Linked DNA regions of Homo sapiens: region 2 is linked to region 1. Evidence: promoter capture Hi-C in 16 types of primary human blood cells and fetal thymus (Javierre and others, 2016). All regions are on one chromosome and are shown on one strand. Each heading gives the region's core, a stretch centred on a gene start or on the middle of the fragment in contact. The rest is flanking DNA. Distances are from core to core; before and after follow the strand shown. Region 1 holds the start of EDNRB (endothelin receptor type B). Region 2 overlaps OBI1-AS1 (OBI1 antisense RNA 1).

Region 1 (7,577 bases), core at 1,301-3,800:
AAGTTCTCAATTCGGTTTTGATGAATTGAATTGAAATTCCTTTGCCAAATTAGAATGGGAAGATTTAGTTTGTGGGACGCCTTAAGAAGTAAAAGGGTCACTTCTGGCCCTCATGGAGTTGTGGCTGCATTTAGAGATTCAATTTCAGCTCTTACCAAGTAAATCCTCACAGTTCATCAGAATCAATTGCCATACAGGATTTTAGGATTTCTTCAATCGATTCCCCCATTTCCGGGGGTGATTCCCTTTAGAGAAAACTATATCCTAATCCACTCTCACCGCTAAACCTCAGAAATGTTCGGAATTCCCCTTAAAATATAGCTATTGGGTTAGGATTTTTAGAGATTTATGAAGGGAAATTTACAGGCATGCCTTATGGTAACTACTCCTGCCAATAGGTCAAAGCATTCCCTACAACATTTCCCAACTTTACATTCCATTTTTTTCCCCTTGTACTGAAGTACTGAAGTCAGGGCTAGCTATAGGCAAATCTGCAAAGCACAATTCCATTTCCTTACACTGTGATTGTGTTTTTATGTGCAACTTTCTATTGCTGCTGCTGCTGCTGCTGCTGGGAAAGTTTTAAATATTTTCATATGTCTTTGAAATTTTCCAACTGTTTTATTTAGACTGCTTTTTTTTTTTTAACACCATAAAGCCTCAGTAAGTGGGCACTGGCAGCCTTATTGTGGAATTGAGGAAACTGAGGCCCAGAGGTGCTGGGATGTGTCTGGAGTTCCAAAGCAACCTGGAGCAACCTGGCTCTTTGTGTGTTTCTACTGACGCCCATGGTAATCACACAATAATGTTAACTACCGAAACCCTTACAGATTTTGAGTGCTCCTTGGTCTTGTCCATGAAATAATTGATGGGGTGCCATCATATAGCTTGCACTTTGGAACCTGACAGATTGGGTCTGATCCCCAGCTCCACCTCTAATTCATTTACTTTGATCATCCTACCAGTCATCTGTAAACTAATTGTAATATCTACTTGTGGGCTGCTGGAAGGAATAATGGAAGTAACACATCTCACCCAGTCCTTGGCCCACTGTAGATATTTAATACAAAGTAGCTACAGTCCGTCACAGCAGGTGAACTGTGTTTTTCCTACTCACCAGTCTGGATCTCTTTTTTCCAGGCCATTTATTTCCTAAATACCTACTTTGTACCTGCTACTTTCAAAGTCTTCCAAAACAGTCCTTCCCAAAGTTAGTGGGCATATCAATCACATGAAGATCTTAAGATGCAGATTCTAACTTAGTAAGTCTGAGGTAGCCTTGCATTCCTAACAAACTCTCAGGTAATATTGATGCTGACTGTCCATGGACCACACACTTTTGACTAGAGGATGTACCCCATTAGGTGCACTTAGGGACTAGATCCTTCAGGACTAGTGGTTCTCAAACTTTACAGTTCATCATAATCACATAAAGGGCTTGTTAAAATACAAATTACTGTGCTCCACTCCAGAGTTTCTGATTCAGTAGGTCTGGGGTGAGGCCAGAAAAATCTTCATGTGCACCAAGTTCCCAAAGTGATACTAACATTGCTAGACTGGGGACTACGCTTGTCCTAAGCTTAGCAGAGGTCTACTGAAGACCTGAATGGAATTTTATTCCAATGGTTACTGACTTTTATGAGTGGACAGAACCAAATGGAATTTGGTTCCAAAGATTACTGACTTTTAGGAGGGGCAGAACCTTAAGAGGGAGCTAAAGGGAAGCTCCCTCTACAAGCTTTCTCATCTCCCCGTCTCCAACCAGGCCCCCTTCCTCAAGCCCACCATGATTTCAGCAGGCGCCCTTTACCTTGTAGACATTGATAGGGATGTCAATGACGATGTGCAGCAGGTCTCCCAGAGCCAAGCTGGCGATCAAGATATTGGGACCGTTTCGCATGCACTTGTTCTTGTAGATAATTCTCAGAAGTGTGGAGTTCCCGATGATCCCCAGCACGAACACAAGGCAGGACACAACCGTGTTGATGTATTTGAAAGTCTCCTTGATCTCGATGGGTCCTTGGCACGGGGGAGGGGAGATGGTGCGTGGCGGAGATCCTGCCGTCCTGTCTCCTTTAGGCACCTCCGCAGGTGCCAACGACCGCGCCAGACTGGCGTTGGAACCCTTGGGCCATAAGGTCTTAGTGGGTGGCGTCATTATCTCTGCGGTTTGCAAAAGCGGAGTGGCCCTGTCAGGCGGGAAGCCTCTCTCCTCTCCCCAGATCCGCGACAGGCCGCAGGCAAGAACCAGCGCAACCAGGGCGCGTCCGCACAGACTTGGAGGCGGCTGCATGCTGCTACCTGCTCCAGAAGGCGTCCGGTGGCCGCTCCGCAGTTTCAGAGCCTAGAGACAAGCAGAGGAAGGAAGACAGGACACTTGGGTCAGCTGCCCGAGCCAAGTCGCTGCAAACGCTAATACCGCCCGCAGCCTCTTCGCCAGTATCCACGCTCAAAAGTAACTCAAGTTTGCGCGCCAGTGGGAAACTTGGCGCTCATGACTCGCCAGCGCGGGTCGAAACTCCTTCCTGATGCCCTCTCAGCTGTTTTTCTTCCCCCGCGTGGCCAGGAGGGGTAAATAATATGCAGTGGGGCGGGGCGTTCTGGAAGGGGTGTGCCAGGGAGGGAATGATGGGGGTCCCAGGCAAAGCTCCGAACTCTTTCACGTAACGGGAGGAATACAGACACGTCTTAGTTAAGCGTGCGTGGGAACCGCGGAATTAAGGCACCTAGAGGCCAAGGGCTTGTGTCAAGCTCTGCATTTTGCCCCGCAGGGGAACCTCTATACCCCGCGATTGAACTCGAAAGACTCCTCCCGGCGGATGAAAGCCGCTACTCCCTGGCTGGCTGAGCTACAGCTCCCGCAGCGCGCCCAGGAGTGCGCCGGAGATTCGGAAACCCGCAGAGACTTCTCAAGTCAGCAGGAACTTGGAAACCGCTGTTCCCTCCAAACGGCTTCAAACACTCGCGCTCCTTCCTTTACCCAACCTAATTTTAATTTGCCCTCTCTATAGGCTTAATTTTTATTTTTTTAAAATCCCAAACTAGTAAGCCAAACCGAAGCCCCAGAATAAGGTTCAATCAATGATTTTAATTCAACACCAAGCCCGAATGTTTACCTCTCGGATCTGACAAACCAGATGCAGAGCGACGAATGGAGACCACCTTCCCGGGAGGCGGAACCCAGCTGGGTTCCAGCCTGCTCTGGGAGAGGAGCACGCCTCCCTTGAGCTGCAGGCGGGTCCGGCTCTGACGAAACGCTGCGAGAATGCCAGACAGTGTAGCCTCCACCGTTTGCTCGGGGTCTCTGCTGCCATCAGACAAGTACTTTTATTCATTCATCCCTTCCCATCAATCACCGCCAGACTCCTCCCGCGCCTTCCGACCCCGCTGCAACCTTTCCCCTTGGGCGATGCCTGGACAGCATCAGTAGTAGTTGCCCGAGGGAGGGGGGCAGTCCTCGTCCGGGGACAGGTCCCAAAAGGCTGTTTATTTGTTAGAGTTCTACGCTCTTCAAATGAACCCAAATCAAGGGCAAGTTATCACGCACCATGTGACACCCGGCAGCTCCAGACTAGAACAAGGCTCTGCACTGAACGTGATAATTGAACTTTTAATGCCAAGTGTCACTTTTCTTTCAGGTAAATGTTCCGCCGCTGTGATATTTAAGGTTGGTTTGTGGGCGCTGCTCTTTGCTCTGCTTCATTTTGCCCTGAAGTTTCATTTCAAGCCAACATTAACCCCAACACGGAACAGCTCGATCTTTTCTTCCCAGGCCCTCTCACTGCCCCGAGAGAGGATTACAAGTACTCCTCATTTTCCCCAGTACAGCTCTTCTCCTCTCTTCCTGCCACAGTATCGGTGTTAGGCAATCTCAGGCATTTTTATACTGTACCTATGACAGACTTGATGCTTATCGGAGACATGAAAATAATCAGAAAGCTGCCATGCAAATTCAACATGATATTTATTTACCAGGTAGAGCAATACAATAAGGTCTTTCTATCCATTCTTGAGCTCCATGTTTACCGCAGAGAGGAAAATAACAGCGACTGGTAGTTTTGCCCAGAGATTGTATAAAAGAGGTCAGGAAGTCAGGCTTGGAGATGCACTGGAGAGTACTGTGCCGTCCTCCAATCAGCAAAATCCCTACTGGATCTGTGGAACTTCAAACCCAGAAGCACCCATTCCATGTAGCAGTTTCACCCAGAGACAGGAGGCTCGTTTTTTGCTTCATGTTAGTTAATGGAATAGATGGGACAAGAACCTTGGATTTTTGGCTCTTAGGCAATGCTTTCTGGGACAGTGGAAGTAGAAAATCAATTTCTATTTAAAAAGGTGAACTTTAAGTGTGAAATGTGGTTAGGAACATGGTTACGGAGTAAGGCTAAAGGAATGAGAAATATGGTCTAGGGTTGTGAGTGCTAATTCCAAATCTGGCTATTTTGAATTGCAGTCCTTATCCTCCCTGTCTCGTAAGAACGAGGTCAACATTCAATTGCTGAGCCAAGTAACAATATACAATGTTGTCTGAATAAGGAATTATATGGAAGCTTTGGAATATGAATATTTTGCTTAGTTGACTCCACCCAGTGTTGGATCTGCCCTTCCTATACAAGCTTTGTTGGGTTCATGCCTATGGCTCCTGTGGGGTGACTTTTCTCTCTCCCCACTGGCCTTCTCATCATCTCCATCTCCATTCAAATTTCCTCCACTGAGTCCTGGAAGTCTGCTCTAATCCTCACTGAGGTCTATCTCTTTACTTTTCTTGGAGCACTTTTGGACTGTTAACCACAACTTAGCAAGCACTTGATCACATAAGAGACATCTATGGGTCACTATTGATTTCGTGTGACTTAATTTCTTTTACAGGACAGGGACTTGAATGAGTTATATGTTCTTTCTGCACCATCCCACTACCTGCCACAAAATGAGCTTAAGAAATATTTTTTATAAATTGATAATGATATTTTAAAGTATTCAGTTATACTTTATTAACTGGTCATTGGGCTCAAGAATAAGGCCAAACAATTTTAAGGTAAATATACACATTCCTCATTTGGAATTTAAAACACAGTATCAGCTACTCCTTACAGGGTCTACCACCTGCATTAGACACCTTTTCACAGTACCTCATTGATTCTCTGATGTTTGTCTTCCAGCTCTGTATTATTTTCTATGATGTTATAGGCAGTGAAACTGAGTCTCAGTAATTCACTTAAGGTCATGTGGCTAGTTAGTTGTGGGACCAGGATTTGGAGCTAGGATTTGAATGCATGTCTAAATGGTTACACAGACTATGCTTTTTATTATTGTAATTGCAGAAAGCCTAAGCAAATTTTTTTCTTATTTTGGGGAAACAGTGTTCTAGACATCAGTAATATGCAATTGAAGTTTAACCTTAAATATTTCACCTTAACATGTAAAGACAACCATGTGAAATGTAAAGAATTGTTCATTGATCTTCATGAATGACTGGGTGTCAGTTTCCCCTTTTGTAAAATGGAAGAAAAGGATTAAAGTTACTTCTTGCTCCAATAAATCAGTCCGACTGACAAACTGCCTCTGTAGGAGTGTCTTAAAGTGCAGAAAAGTGGAAACAGATTCTAGGCCAATATTTTTTTTTAATGTTACTTTCATTACTCATGCCTTGAGCAGTACTGCTATGGATATAGTTTTTTTTTCATCTTATTACTTAAAATCTGTTATCGATAAATTTTATTTATGAATTCACTAGCAACTAACTACTATGTAAATTTCACTTCTATATATGAGCAAAAAGTTGTATCAAATTTTAAGAATTCCTACCTGCAAACTTGTGAACTAATTTTGCATTTATGAGAGGATTTTTTTTTTTTGGCTAGGTAAATGTGGAGTCTTTTACAAAGTTGCTTATTTTAAACGTTTATGAAGTGTCTAGGAAATCTATCAAAATTCCAGATTGGCTAAGATCACTTCTCAAAGTTAGAAAGTTGAAGATAGACAATGTCCCAGTATTTCCTTTAAATGCTTTATCTAGAAGTTCCTGAAGACAGGGTTTAATGCAATTCGGAATTCATTTCTCAAAGAGGTTTGCCATGGGGAGCATTCCCAAAATAAACCTTTTCGCCTGGTGACAGAACAAAGAAAAGCCCTTTTAGCCACACAAAAAAGTTAGTACTTTCATGTAATCCTCTTGAAATGAATGTGCCCTCAAAACCTATGTTGAACTCTCTAAATCATGAATGCTGAGAGACAAGGTGTGCGAAAAACACAGAAAGAGTTGGTTCAACTGGTTCTCCACATATTCCTCTGGGACCAGATTCAATGATCAAATAGTGGTTGAAGTAAGAGAATAAAAAAGTTTTAAAGTGACTGCAAAAGTCAATAGCAAACAGCATGAGAATTTCTATTTCTTGAGTTTTCTTTTCTATTAAGTGACTGTAGCTATCTGGATCCATGATAAAGAATCTTTTTTAATTAAGTATAATGTATGTACAGTGAAATGGACAGGGCTTAACTGCAGCTTGAAGAGTTTTGCCAAATGTTTGCAATCCTGTGACCCATACCTAAGGGGCTCTTTGAAAATTCATTTATTCTTTAAAAGTGGTAAAATTTGAATATTTTAGATTTGGACGCTATTCCTGTTAAAACGCTCATTAAGACACTATTTCTGCTTTATCAACTTATCTGATACATCTTATCAGCTTCTATAACTAAAATGTCACTCATAAATTAGAGGTGTGATTAAATGAGAGAATCTGACATTTGAAACGTTATCAATGATTGCTTGATGGTACCAAATTACACTTCATTCCCTGATGTAATTAAAATTTGATAGGTTTAATGTAACTAGAAATAAGACTTCATTAATTCTTTTCTGCCTATAGAAAATATGAGAAACAGACAGGATACATTCTTTTTTTCTGAGAAAAGCAACATAGTTCAGCTATTTTAGGCTATGGTCTACTTTAATTAAAATTAGACAATAATTTGCTTTCCTACTTATAACTTAAGTAATTTTTATATTCCTTTCTTTGACATATTTTTTTTCACCAATCTCAGTAAAACAAAAAATGAGTGTAACCTGGTCTACAAACTTCTTAAAACTGTTCACAGAACTTTTGTAACAACTTTGAAAAGATATTAGAAATTCCAGTCTAAGAAGGCAGTCGGACCTGTGCCGTCTTGGTTTGTCAATGCACACTGTATTTATTAAATTATTCTTAGGCCACTCAGTAATGGAGAAAACACTATCATTACTGTATGTCAGCACAGTCTTATCATGTGTAATGCACTCTTTGGGGAGTTGTTATTTCATATGGAATATAATTTATAATGAGTTTATGTATTTTCTGTGACTCTAATTGTTTTCTTTAATTTTTACCTTTCCTTGTTTCCATTCTTTTGATACCTGAATGAAGTGTCCAAAGAGATGTGAAATAGTCAAAATAGGTTAGAAAGCAAAAAGAAAGAGAAACTTGGATCTTTAGCTATTTACTGGTAAATAAAAGAGAGGTACTTTTTTTTTTTTTTTAAAGAAAGTAAAAGTTATTTGTAGTACAGAATAGAATGTGCTAGGAGAGTCCAAAAAGGAGAAT
Region 2 (7,577 bases), core at 1,338-3,837, 170 kb after region 1:
TTTTTAGTAGAGTCCTTAGGTTTCTGTATATAAGATCATGTTGTCTGCAAACAGACAATTTAACTTCTTCTTTTCCAATTTAAATGCATTGTATTTCTTTCCCTTGCCTTAATTGTTCTGGCTAGGACTTCCAGTACCATATTGAATAGAAGTGGCAAGAGTGGCATCTTGTATTTTTCTGGTCTTAGAAGAAAAGCTTTCCGCTTTTCACCATTGAGTATAATATTTGCTGTGGGCTTGACATATATGATCTTTATTGTGTTAAGGCACATTTCTTCTATATCTAATTTGTTGAGAGTTTTTTAAATTTAAAGGAGGTTAAATTTTGTAAAATATTTCTGTGTATCCATATACACCATGGAATGCTATGCAGCCATAAAAAAGGATGAGTTCATGTCCTTTGCAGGGACATGGATGCAGCTGGAAACCATCATTCTGAGCAAACTATCACAAGGACAGAAAACCAAACACTGCATGTTCTCACTGATAGGTGGGAATTGAACAATGAGAACACTTGGACACAGGGCGGGGAACATCACACCCTGGAGCCTGTCATGGGGTGGGGGACAGGGGGAGAGATAGCATTAGGAGAAATGCCTAATGTAAATGACGAGCTAATGGGTACAGCAAACCAACATGACACATGTATACCTATGTAACAAAACTGCATGTTGTGAACATGTACCCTAGAACTTAAAGTATAATAAAAAAAAGAAGAAAAAAATATTTCTGTGCATCGATTGAGATGATCATATGGTTTTTGTTTTTCATATGGTTTTTGTTTTTCATGCTGTTAGTGTGGTATATTTATATATTTGTGTATGTTGAACCATCCTTGAATTCCTTGGAAAAATCCCACTTGATCATGGTAAATAATTCTTTTAGTATGTAGTTGAGTTCAGTTTGTTACCATTCTGGTATGGATTTTTGCATCTATATCCATCAGGGATATTGGCCTGTAATTTTCTTTTATTACAGTGTATTTGTTTCTATTTGGCATCAGGGTAATACTAGTCTCTTAAAATGAAGATGGAAGTATTACTTCTTCAATTTTTTGGAGGCATTTGAGAAGAATTGATATTAGTTCTTCTTTAAATATTTAGTAGAATTAAACATGAAGGCTTCAGGTCCTGTGCTTTTTTTTTTTTTTATAGTGGGAGGCTTCTTTTTTACTGATTCAATCTCTTTAATCTTTATTGGTCTGTTCAGGTTTTCTATTTCTTCATGATTCAGTCTTCATAGGTCTTAACGTATCTAGGAATATATTGATTTCTTCTAGGTTATTGAACTTGTTGGCATGTAATTGTTTATAGTAGTCTTATGATTCTTTGTGTCTCTGTGATATCAGTTGCAATATCTCCTTTTTCATTTCTGATTTTATTAGTCTTGTATCTTTTTTCGTAGTCTAACTAAAGATTTGTTGACTTAATCTTTTCAAAAATATCACCTGTTAGTTGTTCTTTCTGTTGCTTTTCTAGTCTATTTAATTTATTTCTGCTCTGGTCTTTATTATTTCCTTTCTTCTGCTAACTTTGGGCTTAGTTTGCCCTTGTTTTTCTAGTTCCTTGAGGGTGACATTAGGCTCTTTATTTTGGATCTTTTTCTTTTTTGATGTAGGCATATATTGTTATAAACTTCCCTCTAAGAACTGTTTTTGCTGCATCTCTTAAGTTTTAGCATGTTTCTATATTCATTTGTTTCAAGATACTTTACATTTTTCTTCTAACTTCTTCATTGATTCATTGGTTGTTTAGGAACATGTTGTTTATTTTCTTATATTTGTGAACTTCTCAAATTTCTTCCTGTTACTGATTTTCAGTTTTATCCCCTTGTGATTGGAAAAGATAATTGATATGATTTCAACTTTCTTAGATTTGTTAAGCTTGTTTTGTGGCCTAACATAACCTATCCTGGAGAATGTCTTATGTACACTTGAGAAGAATGTGTATTCTGTTGCTGTTGAATAGAATATTCTGCATATATCTGTTAGGTCAATTTGGTCTAAATAAAGTTTAAGTCCAATGTTTCAATGCCTTATTTTTACTCGTGGAATTTATCACAACTTTATGTTGTATTTCTTAACTGTCTTCCTTTCTTTGGAGTTATAAGCTCTAAAGGAGCAAGAATTTGTTTCTTATCTTCTTTACTGCCTAGAGCAGTCATTGGAGTGTATTAATCATTCAATGAATAAATGTATTAATCATTCAATGAATAAATGTATTAATCAACAAAGAACTGAAACTAAAAGCCTAACCCAAGGTTACAAATCCTGTAATAGCTAAAAGCAGAATTCGACCTGACATGTTTAACTCAAACCTAGTGTTTATTCTATTATACCAGTAATGTCACAGTATTTATTTGTATAAACTCGGAATATCTTTCTTGGGGAAAGGAAGCAAGTGCTTGGTTAGGGAATGGTAAAAACCCATTATCAGCGATAGTATTGAGATTTGAAAACCAAAGCTGATATGTTTCAGGTTACTGTGTTCCATTTGCAATGCTTATATTCTGAATGTCTATTAAATAGTGAGGTTGAAGAGGTCTATGGGATGTGAGTATTACTTGCATCCCAGTAATTCTAGCACATATTATTTTGGAGCTGAAGCTATAGGAACAATATCTTCTTGTGTCGAGGTAACCTAAAACAGTAGTGAGAAAGTAGCACTACTGGAAGATATCACCTGTCACTTGGTGGCTACAGGTTTTCAGACTTAATGCGTAGAAAAGAGTCTTACCTTGAAACCCCAATCCTAAATATAGTAGACTTTTCCTGGTATTGACTAAGTTATCAAACTCTGGATTTACAATTAATCTGCAAAATAATTCAAACAATTCCCTAATACCTAGCTCTTTATCATGAAAATGTGCCATTGGTCTTGAAACAGTTGATGCTTTGCCCACATGAAAAAAAAAGCAGTGGTATCAATAGCCAACACCACTTAGCTAAATGACCTTGTTCCTAGAAACAACTGCTTAACACTATTGTGTACAGAGTCCTGGACATACTGTAACTTTTCTGATTATCACAATGCACCAAAATACATCATCTACTAATGCACTGTATATAAATCCAAACATGCTTATTCCAAGGAGAATGTCTCTCCCTCCCTAATTTTACTTTGGTAGATTTATTTCCTTTTTGGGAAAACGCATTTTCCTCCCTTTCCAAATATTTAGGTCAGTGAACTCATTTCTGGAATTCAGAAGTCTAGAGACTTTAAGATTTGGCAGAGAAGTTTTGAGACTGTCAGTTAAATACAATGAGTTTTGCATTCTCTAATGAAATAAAAATGTAAGCTTACATATCCAGCCTTACTTCAACATTCTGTACTACCACTAAAAGAGAGCATTTTGTGTCAGATCTAAAAGTCAGGAACCTTATGTTACACTGGTTTATGACTAAGTCAAATCTATATCTGCCCTCTAAATAATATATCTTATTATATCATCACTTGAGAGGGGATGAAGGCCAGAAGGATGTATATCAAGTGAGTTCACTGGCATATTGCAATAAAGTACACTGGCAGTTAAATAATAAGTAACAGAAAACTTTCAGAACTCATAATGAAAAAAATTCAATTGCCTTTCTTTGGATAATACAGAGAAAACAGAACAATCAAAAGACAAAATATAAATTTAAAAAGCTCTCAGGCTGTTTTAATAATTCTATTGCAATTGGTAGTTCTCTGTACACAAGAAGAAAGATAAAGCATTTGGCTTTATAAATATTATATATAGATAATTTTTCATTTTGCTTTACATATGTATTTTATATTTCAAAATAAAATACATGTAATAATTATCACAAAACACTTAACATTTTTATTGAGAACCTGTAAGGTGCCAGATCCTCAGGAAACTGAGACCTAGCAGGTTAATTTGCTTAGCTAGGACATAGATTCCATGGTACACCAAGCTGACTCCAAAGTGCAGAATAGCTAATATTTATTGCGTGTTAGCTAATTATGAAGTACTCTACCAAGCTCTTACTCCTCAGAACAACTCCATGAGGCAAGTACTACAGATATGAACATCCCTGCTTTACAGATGATTAGAACAAGGCTTAAAATGTATAACTAACTGTGCCAAAAAGCTGCACAGCCAGCCTGTCATGGAGTTCAGACATGAGCCCAGTACTGTCAGCCAGAATCTCTGAGTTTTGAGAACCCCTTTATGTAGAGAACACCCTATTTCCTTGCAGTGGCCAAGGCGGCCGCAAAGGTTGGGAGGTGGGGGTGAGAATGGAAGTGGTGGATTGTAGGCTAAGTGAGACTTCCACGCAGACCTTCCTGTCCTGTGTGTTCCCCCTGTAGCGGCTCCCTGAAATGACCTCTGATGCTTCCCAGGGAAGAGGCTTAGTTGAAAGCCTTGAATGATAATGCCTGCAAATGATCATTTCCCTTCCTTTCCCTCTCCTTCCCACCTCCCTTCCCCTTTTCCTTAAGGTGAACGTGTCAGCTTATTTTTCAATTTTATTAGAGCATGCAACACCTAGGTTGAACAGGCAAGAGTGTTAAGAGTGAGAAAACAATTAACTACAGCAAATAGAATGCAGAAGTTTTCTCCTTTTTGTGTTTAATTCCACCCGAGTTGGCCACTGAAAACCTGCTGACTCACTCTCATTTTACTTTCTTTTCTGTAATTGCTTAAAAAGTATACTCCAAAACTAACTGTCACCCAATTCACTTAGTCAATGTTGTGGGAATGTCAACTATCGTATTCCATGAGGAAATTCTATCTCTGATGCCATCTTTGGGGGGCAGGTGTTATAATTTGTTTATACAAAGGTCAATGTCAGGCTCCGTGACTTCTCTATTTTCCATGACTATAAGATAGCACACTCTTTTCTTTGCATGAGGGTGTGTTAGTGTGTTCTCATATAAGAAAGAAATAATTGGATCTAGTGTTTTCTTTTCTCAATCTTTTATTTTATCTTTGGTTAACATGTTCTTATCAAAGTCATGATACAGAGTACCAATTGCCAATCCAGTACTCCTTATCTTCCACCTTACTAATAGAATGCCAATTTTTAGCTGGCCATAGGGCCACTTGGAATAAAGATAACAATTCCAAGGCTGCTCAGGGCTGTTGTACCTAACCATTTAGACCTGTGAGGGTAGATGTGTTGTGAGAGACTTGAAGAAGGCCCTTTAAAAGACACTTAGAAACAAACTCATTTTGACTTCTATTCTTTTTGCTCTCTGGAATGTGGGTGAGATGGTTGAAACTCCAGCATCCACCCTAGAACATGTGGTTATCTTGAGTATGGAAACAACACACCAAAAATGGCAGAGGAGAAAGATAGAGGAGTCTGGGCATCTAGTGACTTCATGGAGCTGCCACACCAATCCTGGACTTCCTAACCCTTGTCTTCTTTTCTGTAAGAAAATGACCATTTGAGTGTTTGAGCCACTGTTATTTTGAGATTATTTCCATTTCTAACTGATGTAAGACCATTTTTAAAAGAAAAATGATTATAATTTTGGGGGAGGGGCCATGTGTAGTATGCTAAACTTGGTTGGTTATAAATAACCATATAAGCCCCACAATAGCCCTATATAACGATGAATATAACCACCACTTCAAAATTATAGACAGTAAGGCTTGGAAAGACATGTTTGAGGATTTACTCAGTCCATGCAGCTAGTTAAAAACAAAGACACAATTTAAACTCAAATCTGTATATTTAGATTCTGGATCCTATTATTTTCTCTTTTTACTATTCTTGCTTCTTGTGGCAGTTTGTTCATATCACAACAAACTCTCTTCGATTCAGATCCTACCTCTGACTTTTCTGACCTTTGTTCATTTAACTCTAAGCCTCAGTATCCCCATCTGGAAAACAGGATTACTAGGAGTGCATATTTCTTACGATTTGGGGAGCTCAAGTATGTTAACTAATGAGAAACACTTATTAAAATAGCTTATACATATAATGCTCTCAACAAATAGTTTTATTGTGTAATTTTATTATATTTACACTGTATTAGAGTTAATAATTTCTATGCCTGTTTTACTCAATAGATTCTAAGGGTCTTGGTGGCAGGAAATATACTTTTGTCATCTCTGTGTCCTCTGTACATTTTGAACAATGCTTTGCAATTTGTAAGTGCTCTATAAATGTTAGTTGAATTTAACTTACTTGGGAAGCAGTCTTGTGGGACTTATTTTGCTGATAGTTTGTTTAAACTTTATTTTTATGCTCATTTAGGTATATTTCATGGTCATTTTCATGATCTATATGAATAGTTAAGTCTGAAGAATACAATTTGCCTGAGTGAAACAGAGGTCATTTATCAGTCATTTCTTTAATCTTAAGTTAATCTTCAGCTAATGAGATTTAGCCATAAAAGCATTAATTTATAAAACATTCTGAGATGCAAAAACTGTTTCATGGCCAATATTAACCCTTTTGAAATATTTACACCAAATTCTACTTTAATGTTTATCATTGACTTATGAGAAATAAAGAAACTCTCTGTGTCATTTGTACTTAACTATAAAATACAAGATAATCTTTGTTTTGCCCATGTGAAACAGTTCCTAAACTGACAAACTTGTTCATTATACTCAAATCTCAATTGATGTTGCCAAAATGCATCAAACTAGTTCTTTCTTCAAAAGCCTATCCCATAAGTATTTCTATCATAAAATGTAAATAACTAAAAATTTGCATAAATATTTATTTTTCTCTTAGACATACTTCAATAGGACAATCTCGGGTCAGAATGTGTGATGCTGTTAAAAGAAAACTTAAAAGTAAAATGCAGTTCAGTGTCCCTGGGGATCTCACATTTTAGGGCAGAATTCTCCAGAATTATCTTCTGTTATTTGTTAAAGTAACATGTGAACTTTGGAAGAGATGGCATCTTTCAGCCAAGGAAATATCAATGCTAAGAGCATGAACTTGAATTTAAACCAATTAAAACAAAATTATATTTATTTGGCAAGATAAAGGTATTTCTGATAAGTAAACAAACAAAATGTTACTTTATCTCATTCTTTACAACTAACAGAGGATTTGATTGTAGCTATTTGATAATCAACAACGCGACTTTCCCACATGATGCATTTTGTACACTGCCAGAAGCAAAATGGAAGATTTGGCTCTAGCCCTTCACCGGAGATGGTAGACTCCTATGTGATCAGTTTACAAACTTTGCTTCTGGCATACTCCTAAATTAAAGAGTTGGTTATGGAGACTCTACAATCAGATTTTACCATGACTGAGACAGTATTTTGAAAACAATTATTTGATGCTTCTGTTCTTGTCTCCCACAAGTTATCTTCCTGGGAAGCCATTATACTATATATCTAGGGAAACAGTGTGAATAGATGCTTCCAAGGGAAGGAGATGCCAGAACATGAGCAGTGAGCAAGACAACCAGCGACACTCTAACTGCAGAGGCCAGAGAACCTCTGTGGGCAGCACCGGTCCCCACTGCGAATCCACAGAGAACTTCTGGACTTTCCTTCACCCAGATGAGGTTTTAATCAGCTTCTGAAACAATTCCTTTGCAGGGAAGGAAGGGTGGTAGGAGAAAAGGTAGAGAACAGAAAAATAAAATCTGTCTTTA

Evidence for each region. The method cuts DNA at HindIII sites, captures the fragments that hold promoters and counts their contacts. A CHiCAGO score of 5 or more calls a contact.
Region 2: a contact is called between a fragment that was not itself captured here and the fragment with the promoter of EDNRB in region 1, in 1 of 17 cell types (M1 macrophages). The highest score is 6.4, in M1 macrophages.

The regions. Positions count from the first base shown.
Region 1 is chr13:77,916,281-77,923,857 of GRCh38, forward strand. It overlaps EDNRB (endothelin receptor type B), which reads right to left and starts at 2,551. Exons shown (of 7, transcript NM_001122659.3): 1 at 1,811-2,551. The coding sequence starts at 2,293. RefSeq lists promoters at 2,480-3,552, 2,542-2,656 and a cis regulatory region at 2,908-2,917. The HindIII fragment of the contact is 2,812 bases long and covers 1,737-4,548 here.
Region 2 is chr13:78,081,419-78,088,995 of GRCh38, forward strand. All of the region lies in intron 1 of OBI1-AS1 (OBI1 antisense RNA 1), which reads left to right. Among named protein-coding and RNA genes, the nearest start is that of OBI1-AS1, 30 kb to the left of the region's middle. The HindIII fragment of the contact is 1,415 bases long and covers 1,881-3,295 here.